2 separate regions of the Homo sapiens genome follow, and region 2 is linked to region 1. The links are contacts of gene promoters, found by promoter capture Hi-C in human tissues and cell types (Jung and others, 2019). All regions are on one chromosome and are shown on one strand. Each heading gives the region's core, a stretch centred on a gene start or on the middle of the fragment in contact. The rest is flanking DNA. Distances are from core to core; before and after follow the strand shown. Region 1 holds the start of BDH2 (3-hydroxybutyrate dehydrogenase 2). Region 2 overlaps BANK1 (B cell scaffold protein with ankyrin repeats 1).

What was found. Contacts are between HindIII fragments. The study calls those that stand out against the background at their distance.
Region 2: a contact is called between a fragment that was not itself captured here and the fragment with the promoter of BDH2 in region 1, in 1 of the 25 tissues and cell types used here (aorta).

The regions. Positions count from the first base shown.
Region 1 is chr4:103,097,783-103,101,477 of GRCh38, reverse strand. It overlaps BDH2 (3-hydroxybutyrate dehydrogenase 2), which reads left to right and starts at 1,644. Exons shown (of 10, transcript NM_020139.4): 1 at 1,644-1,695. The HindIII fragment of the contact is 9,040 bases long and covers 1-3,695 here.
Region 2 is chr4:101,994,417-101,998,111 of GRCh38, reverse strand. All of the region lies in intron 7 of BANK1 (B cell scaffold protein with ankyrin repeats 1), which reads right to left. Among named protein-coding and RNA genes, the nearest start is that of BANK1, 210 kb to the right of the region's middle. The HindIII fragment of the contact is 6,310 bases long and covers 1-3,695 here.

The DNA.
Region 1 (3,695 bases), core at 395-2,894:
TATTAGTAAAGCAGGAACAAAGCTAGATGTGATTACAGATTGTTAGAGCCAGCATTAGAAGTTGCTGAAACAATGAACAAGGAGGGACAATTTTACCATAGACCTCATATAGACACATGCAGAAACTAAGTCCAGTTTTTAAAAGAACATTAAAAAGCGCAACTTTTACCATCCATTATAATTAAATTTCTCCAACAATGTCTTCATCATAAGAATCACTAACATGTATTAAGCACCTGTGTGGCAAACATTGTGCTGATGGATTCACAGGCTTAGTCGTTCCTCCTCACCACATCCCTGAGGTAGGTGCTATTTTACCTTCATTTTACAGATGAGAAACATAAGAGGTTCAGAGATTTAAGTGATTTACTCACTTAGCTAGTGAGAGAGAGATATGGGACTTGCTCTAGTCTTACTGACGCCACAGTCTTTGTTCTTATCCCCTGTGACTGTTAGAAATCACTTAGCTCCATGTAACAAAAAACGTGAAAAACACTAAAGTTTATTGTCCTCACATAAGAAGTCCAGAGGAGTTGTTGCCTTGAGGCTGTCATCAGGGCCGCAGGCTCCTTCTCTTGCTGGTCCCTGTCGTTAATGTGTGCCTCTGGCCTCAGATGAACTCACTAAATGGCTGCTCTGTCCCACGGCATCCTATCTTCATTCCAGGCAAAAAGAAAGGGAGGAGCAAAAGCTAAAAGCCTTTCAGAAGGGCTTACTTTTCTATTTAAGAAGGAGGCCCTCCTCAGAAATTCCCACCTGCATTTCATTGGCAACATCTATGCTGCTTGGCCACCCCTAGCAGCAAACAAGGCTATGAAGTAGAGACTTTTGTTTTCCAGCTTTGACAAGTGAAAAAAGGGGAAAGTGAGTTGGATGGGTGCTGAGGAAACCAATTTATACAGTACATGTACAAGTAGCCTACACAATCACTCTGCTCACTGGCACTACAGATAAAGCACATGTTGCTATCCTAACCTAGAGGGCTCATGAGATCTAGTCCTTTCTTTTTGACCTTATATCTCTGTTCTCTTCAGCCAAACTGGGGTTTTTCGCTGTTAACATGTTCCCTTTTAAGCCTCCACCCTGTCATCCAAGTTTCACGTTCTCCCCAACCCCATTCCCAGTGTAGTAAAAGGCTCCTGGCATTCTGCCACTAAATGTGCATTAGTGTTAGAATATTCTGAGCATGAAAAAATAAAAATCACAACTGTATCTCAAACAAAAAGGATTTTTTTTTTTATTTCTCTCCCTTAAAACAATCCAGGCCAAGTGACAGGAAGGCTCCAGAATTTTCAGTGACCTGGGTTCCCTCTATTTTGTTGCTCTGCTATCTTCCACACGCAGTTTCCAGCTCAGCCAATCTCGTCTACCCTGGCACCGCATATAGTAGGCATAAACAAAACAGAGAAGTGGAGAGACTGAAGTGAAGGAAATGATTTCCGCATCCTAAGTAAGCTCTAAGGTGCTTTTCCACTTTTCACCTTCCACTTGGAATTCATAGTTCTACCTGAATTCCACTAGATGGCAGCACATACATTTATAAAGTGTATGGATGGAGCCACTAAACTCTGAAAGCAGGGAAACTACAAATCCCAGCATGCATTATTAAGCGCTTGACTTGCTTCCAGACAAAGGTTGTCTCAAGTTTGTTGCTCAAACCGAGTTCTGGAGAACGCCATCAGCTCGCTGCTTAAAGTAAGATTTCCTAATACTTTTGAAATGAAACTTTAGAACGGAAAGAGGGGAGGTTTAATTTTTAGATGTTGTTTTTTTCTGCACGTTGCCTGTTTCAAAATTAATCTGAGCAGTTAGATCAGTGTAAAGATGGGTTTTTAAAGAGCCTGAAACTCTGTGGTATGTATGTTTTATAAAGTAGCCCAAGAAAAAAGGATTCTTACGGTATCCTAAGTGAAGAGTTTTCTTCCTGGCTCTTGAAAACAATGGCTTCCTGAATATGCTGTTTGTGTCTCTGCTAATCAAAAATCAACATTTTGATTCTAACTTTTGGACTAAGGAAGCCAACATGTATGGTTTTCACATTGGATATATTGAGAGGTGCCTTGTTTTACCATTTCAGGCCGTGTTTGCTCTCATTTTCTCAAAGAAATCTGTTTTAGTTTGAGATTACAGTTTATCAAATGTTAAGGCTTTGACCCCAAAATCTGGTCCCAGAAAGACAGGAAGGCCAGCTAAGAGGAGGTTTTCAGAGTGCATAGAAAGGCTGCTCTGTGCTTCGGCATTTGTTCTGGAAGTGCTTCTTCGGTTGGCAAAGATTCCTAGCAAAACCTTTGACTGGAGGCTTTACAGGGCCATACACCCAATATCACTAATGACAGTGTTGTAAAATAGCTTTTGTGCACCATGCTTAGGATTCAAGGAGGATAAAGTATATCTTTCTAAAGTTATACTTTAGAAACTGTCATTCCATGTTGAAATGATAAACATTCCATGTTTATCTTTTGTGTAAGAAGTAAAAAAGCAAAAATTCATTGCATCAAAGTAGGTCAGGCACTGTTAAAGCCAAGCTTCCCCATCGCCTAAAAAATGTGGACAAACTCAGAGGAAGTCAGTGATTATAAGCTGATCCCTGGAGCCAGTTCTTACATAATTGTGTTAGTCTGCTCCTCCAAGAAGCAGACTCCAAGATAGAATTAAATATGCATGGATTTTATTAGGGGAAATGCTGTTGTGAGAGAGAATGAGGAGAGAACTAGGTAAGGCTGTGAGAGCCATCAGACCTCGATGCAAGTCCACCCGCGAGGGAGGAAAAGAAGGAAACCAGGTTGAGTGGAAGCATCCCAGACAGCTGTGCAGTCTAAGAGAACTTCAGCAAGGTAATAAGGAGCTTCTCTAGCCAGTCATCCGTTGGGGAGGAGGTCTATGTCTCCCAGAAATGAGTCTGCCTTAGTAAGCATGCATGCTCAGGCACTGGCTTGTAACGGCCCCGAGAAGGTGGCCTCAGCACAAACCCAGAGAGGCAGCAGCAGCTGCGCCTCATTGTCCATTACTTCCTGGGGTCAGCGGTCTGCGAGGCACAGGCTCCTGGTGCCACAGTGGGGATTTAGAGAGGCCCGCAGGGCTTTGAGTACCATGAGACAATGCCATGAGATCTTCCCTTGGACCTGCAACAAGAAGGCCTAGGTTTGAATTCATAGCTGCAAAACACTGGGCAAATAACATTTCTTTGAAATTAGCCACGTTGGTGATCAGGTCCTACCTATCTCATCTCTGAAACACTTCTCCAATCCACCTATCTCTCCATCCCTGCTATTTTCTCCAGCCCTGCTATTTCACCAGCGCCCCCACTAGATAACCCTAGCAGCCTCCTAATGGCACCCCATGCTCCTGCCCAGGTATGTTCTCCACAGCAGTCCTTCCAAAATACGAATCTGATCATTTCACACCCTTTCCATAAATCCTTCAGTGGCTGTTGCCTATAGGAGTAACTTGCCCTTCACCATGTGGACCTTGGACCAAGTGTGGAGGTTTGAAATGGAAGAGCATATTGGGTATAAAAAAAAAAAAGTTTGGCTAAAGAGAGAACTGAAATAAGTTCAAAGAGAAAGGACTAGGTAATATAAGCCCTTTAGGCAAGGCTATCAACCTGTACAAAATCAGGCAGATAATGGAACAGAGTGATTGTGTAGGCTAGTTTGCATGTACTGTAAGTTGGTTCATCAACACCATCCAACTCA
Region 2 (3,695 bases), core at 418-2,917, 1.1 Mb after region 1:
TGTACCAAAATGTCTGGGAAACAAGTAAAGCAGTGTTTACAGGGGAATTTTTAGCACCAAATGTCCACAGGAGAAAGTGGGAAAGATCTAAAATCGCCACTCTTACATCGCAATTAACAGAACTAGAGAAACAAAAGCAAACAAATTCAAAAGCTAGCAGAAGACAAGAAATAACTAAGATCAGAGCAGAACTGAAGGAGATAGAGGCACAAAAAAACTTTCAAAAATCAATGAATCCAGGAGCTGGTTTTTTTAAAAAATTAGCAAAATAGACTACTAGCCAGAATAATTAAGAAGAAAAGAGAGAAGAATCAAATAGACACAATCAAAAATGACAAAGGGGATATTACCACTGATCCCACAGAAATACAAACTACCATCAGAGAATACTATAAACACCTCTATGCAAATAAACTAGAAAATCTAGAAGCAATTGATAAATTCCTGGACACATACACCATCCCAAGACTAAACCAGGAAGAAGTCGAATCCCTGAATAGATCAATAACAAGTTCTGAAATTGAGGCAGTAATTAATAGCCTAACAATAAAAAAAAAGCCTAGTACCAGATGGATTCACAGCTAAATTCTACAAGAGGAGCTGGTACCATTCCTTCCGAAACTATTCCACACAATAGAAAAAGAGGGAGTCCTCCCTAACTCATTTTATGAGGCCAACATGATCCTGATACCAAAACCTGGCAGAGACACAACAAAAAAAGAAAATTTCAGGCCAATATCACTGATGAACATCAGTGCAATAATTCTCAATAAAATACTGGCAAACTGAATCCAGCAGTACATCAAAAAGCTTATCCACCACGAACAAGTCGGCTTCGTCACTGGGATGCAAGACTGGTTCAATATATGGAAATCAATAAACATAATCCATCACATAAACAGAACCAATGACAAGAACCACTTGATTATCTCAATAGACGCAGAAAGGACCTTCAAAAAAATTCAACACCCTTTCATGGTAAAAACTCTCAAAAAACTAGGTATTGATGGAATGTATCTCAAAATAATAAGAGCTATTTATGACAAACACACAGCCATTTTCATACTGAATGGGCAAAAGCTGGAAGCATTCCCTTTGAAAACAGGCAAAAGACAAGGATGCCCTCTCTCACCACTCCTATTCAATATAGTATTGGAAGTTCTGGCCAGGGCAATCAAGCAAGAGAAAGAAAAAAAGGGTATTCAAATAGGAAAAGAGGAAGTCAAATTGTCTCTGTTTGCAGATGACATGATTGTATATTTAGAAAACCCCATCGTCTCAGCCCAAAATCTCCTTAAGCTGATAAGCAACTTAGTAAAGTGTCAGGATACAAAATCAATGTGCAAAAATCACAAGCATTCCTATACACTAAGAACAGACAAACAGAGAGCAAAATCATGAGTGAACTCCCATTCACGATTGCTACAAAGAGAATAAAATACCTAGGAATACAACTTACAAGGGATGTGAAGGACCTCTCTTCAAGGAGAACTACAAAACACTGCTCAAGGAAATAAGGGAGCACACAAACAAATGGAAAAACATTCCATGCTCATAGAAAGGAAGAATCAATATAATGAAAATGGTCATACTGCCCAAAGTAATTTATAGATCCGATGCTATCCCCATCAAGCTACCATTGACTTTCTTCACAGAATTAGAAAAACACTACTTTAAATTTCATGTGAAATCAAAAAAGAGCCCATATAGCTAAGACAATCCTAAGCAAAAAGAACAAAGCTGGAGGCATCATGCTACCTGAATTCAAACTATACTACAAGGCTACAGGAACCAAAACAGCATGGTACTTGTACCAAACAGATATATGGACCAATGGAACAGAACAGAGGCCTCAGAAATAACACTACACATCTACAACCATCTGATCTTTGACAAACCTCGAAAAAATAAGCAATGGGGAAAGGATTCCCTATTTAATAAATGGTGTTGGGAAAACTGGCTAGCCATATGCAGAAAACTGAAACTGGACCCCTTCCTTACACCTTATACAAAAATTATACAAGATGGATTAAAGACTTAAATGTAACCCCAGAAGAAAACCTAGGCAATACCCTGCAGGACATAGGTATGGGCAAAGACTTCGTGACTAAAACACCAAAAGCAATGGCAACAAAAGCCAAAAGTGACAAATGGGATCTAATTAAACTAAACTAAACTTCTGCACAGCAAAAAAACTATCATCAGAGTGAAAAGGAAACCTACAGAATGGGAGAAAATTTTTGCAATCTATCCATCTGACAAAGGGCTAATATCCAGAATCTACAAGGAACTTAAACAAATTTAAAAGAATGAAACAAACAACCCCATCAAAAAGTGGGTGAAGGATATGAACAGACACTTCACAAAGGAAGACATTTATGTGGCCAAAAAACATATGAAAAAAAGCTCATCATCACTGGTCATTAGAGAAATGCAAACCAAAATCACAATGAGATACCATCTCATGCTAGTTAGAATGGAGATCATTAAAAAGTCAGGAAACAACGATGCTGGAGAGGATGTGGAGAAATAGGAACACTTTTACACTGTTGGTGGGACTGTAAACTAGTTCAACCATTGTGGAAGTCAGTGTGGCGATTCCTCAGGGATCTAGAACTGGAAATACCATTTGACCCAGCAATCCCATTACTGGGTATATACCCAAAGTATTATAAATAATTCTACTATAAAGACACATGCACATACATGTTTATTGCAGCACTATTTATAATAGCAAAGATTTGTAACCAACCAAAATGCCCATTAATGATAGACTGGATAAAGCAAATGTGACACATATACAACATGGAGTACTATGCAGCCATAAAGAAGAATGAGTTCATGTCCTTTGCAGGGACATAGGTGAAGTTGGAAACCATCATTCTCAGCAAACTAACACAGGAACAGAAAACCAAATACCACATGTTCTCACTCATAAGAGGGAGCTGAATCAGAACGCATGGACACAGGGAGGGGAACATCACACACCAGGGCCTGTCAGGTGGTGGGGGGTTAGGGGAAGGATAGCATTAGGAGAAATACCTAATGTAGATGACGGGTTGATGGGTGCAGCAAACCACCATGGCACATGTATACCTATGCAACAAACTGGCACGTTCTGCACATGTCTCCCAAAACTTAAAGTATAATTTTAAAAAAGAGGCAATATCAAAAAGTAAATTATGACAATAAGAATTCAAAAGTTGGGATAAAAAAAGAGACAACTTTTTTTGTTGTTGTTATAAACCTTGTAAAATGATTGGCTTCTCAGCTGTGACCCCATGAAACTTCTCTGTGCAATAAAGTGATTTTTCTAGTTTCACTCTCATTTTGAAATTGAAGAATTTTAAATATCACAAGAAATGTACTACCATGAATGAGAAAGATACGATAGGAATCAAAAGATACAGGTTTCCTGCTTTGCTAACAATGAGCTGAGTGTTTTTCCTCATCTACAAAATGAGGGAGTTGGAATAATTGATCTCTAAGGCCCCTATCAGCCCTAACATACTGCTTTTCTGATTCCATTTTCATGCACCATGTACAACAGCATGTAGCCACTTCCTTTTTCTTAAATTGACATGATGCAATTATATTTTTTAAAAAAACAGATTCTATCAATTAATTAGGAAAACAAATAATTGCTAACATTAGACAGATGGTGAAACTCTCTCAAAGTAGGGCAGACAAAATAA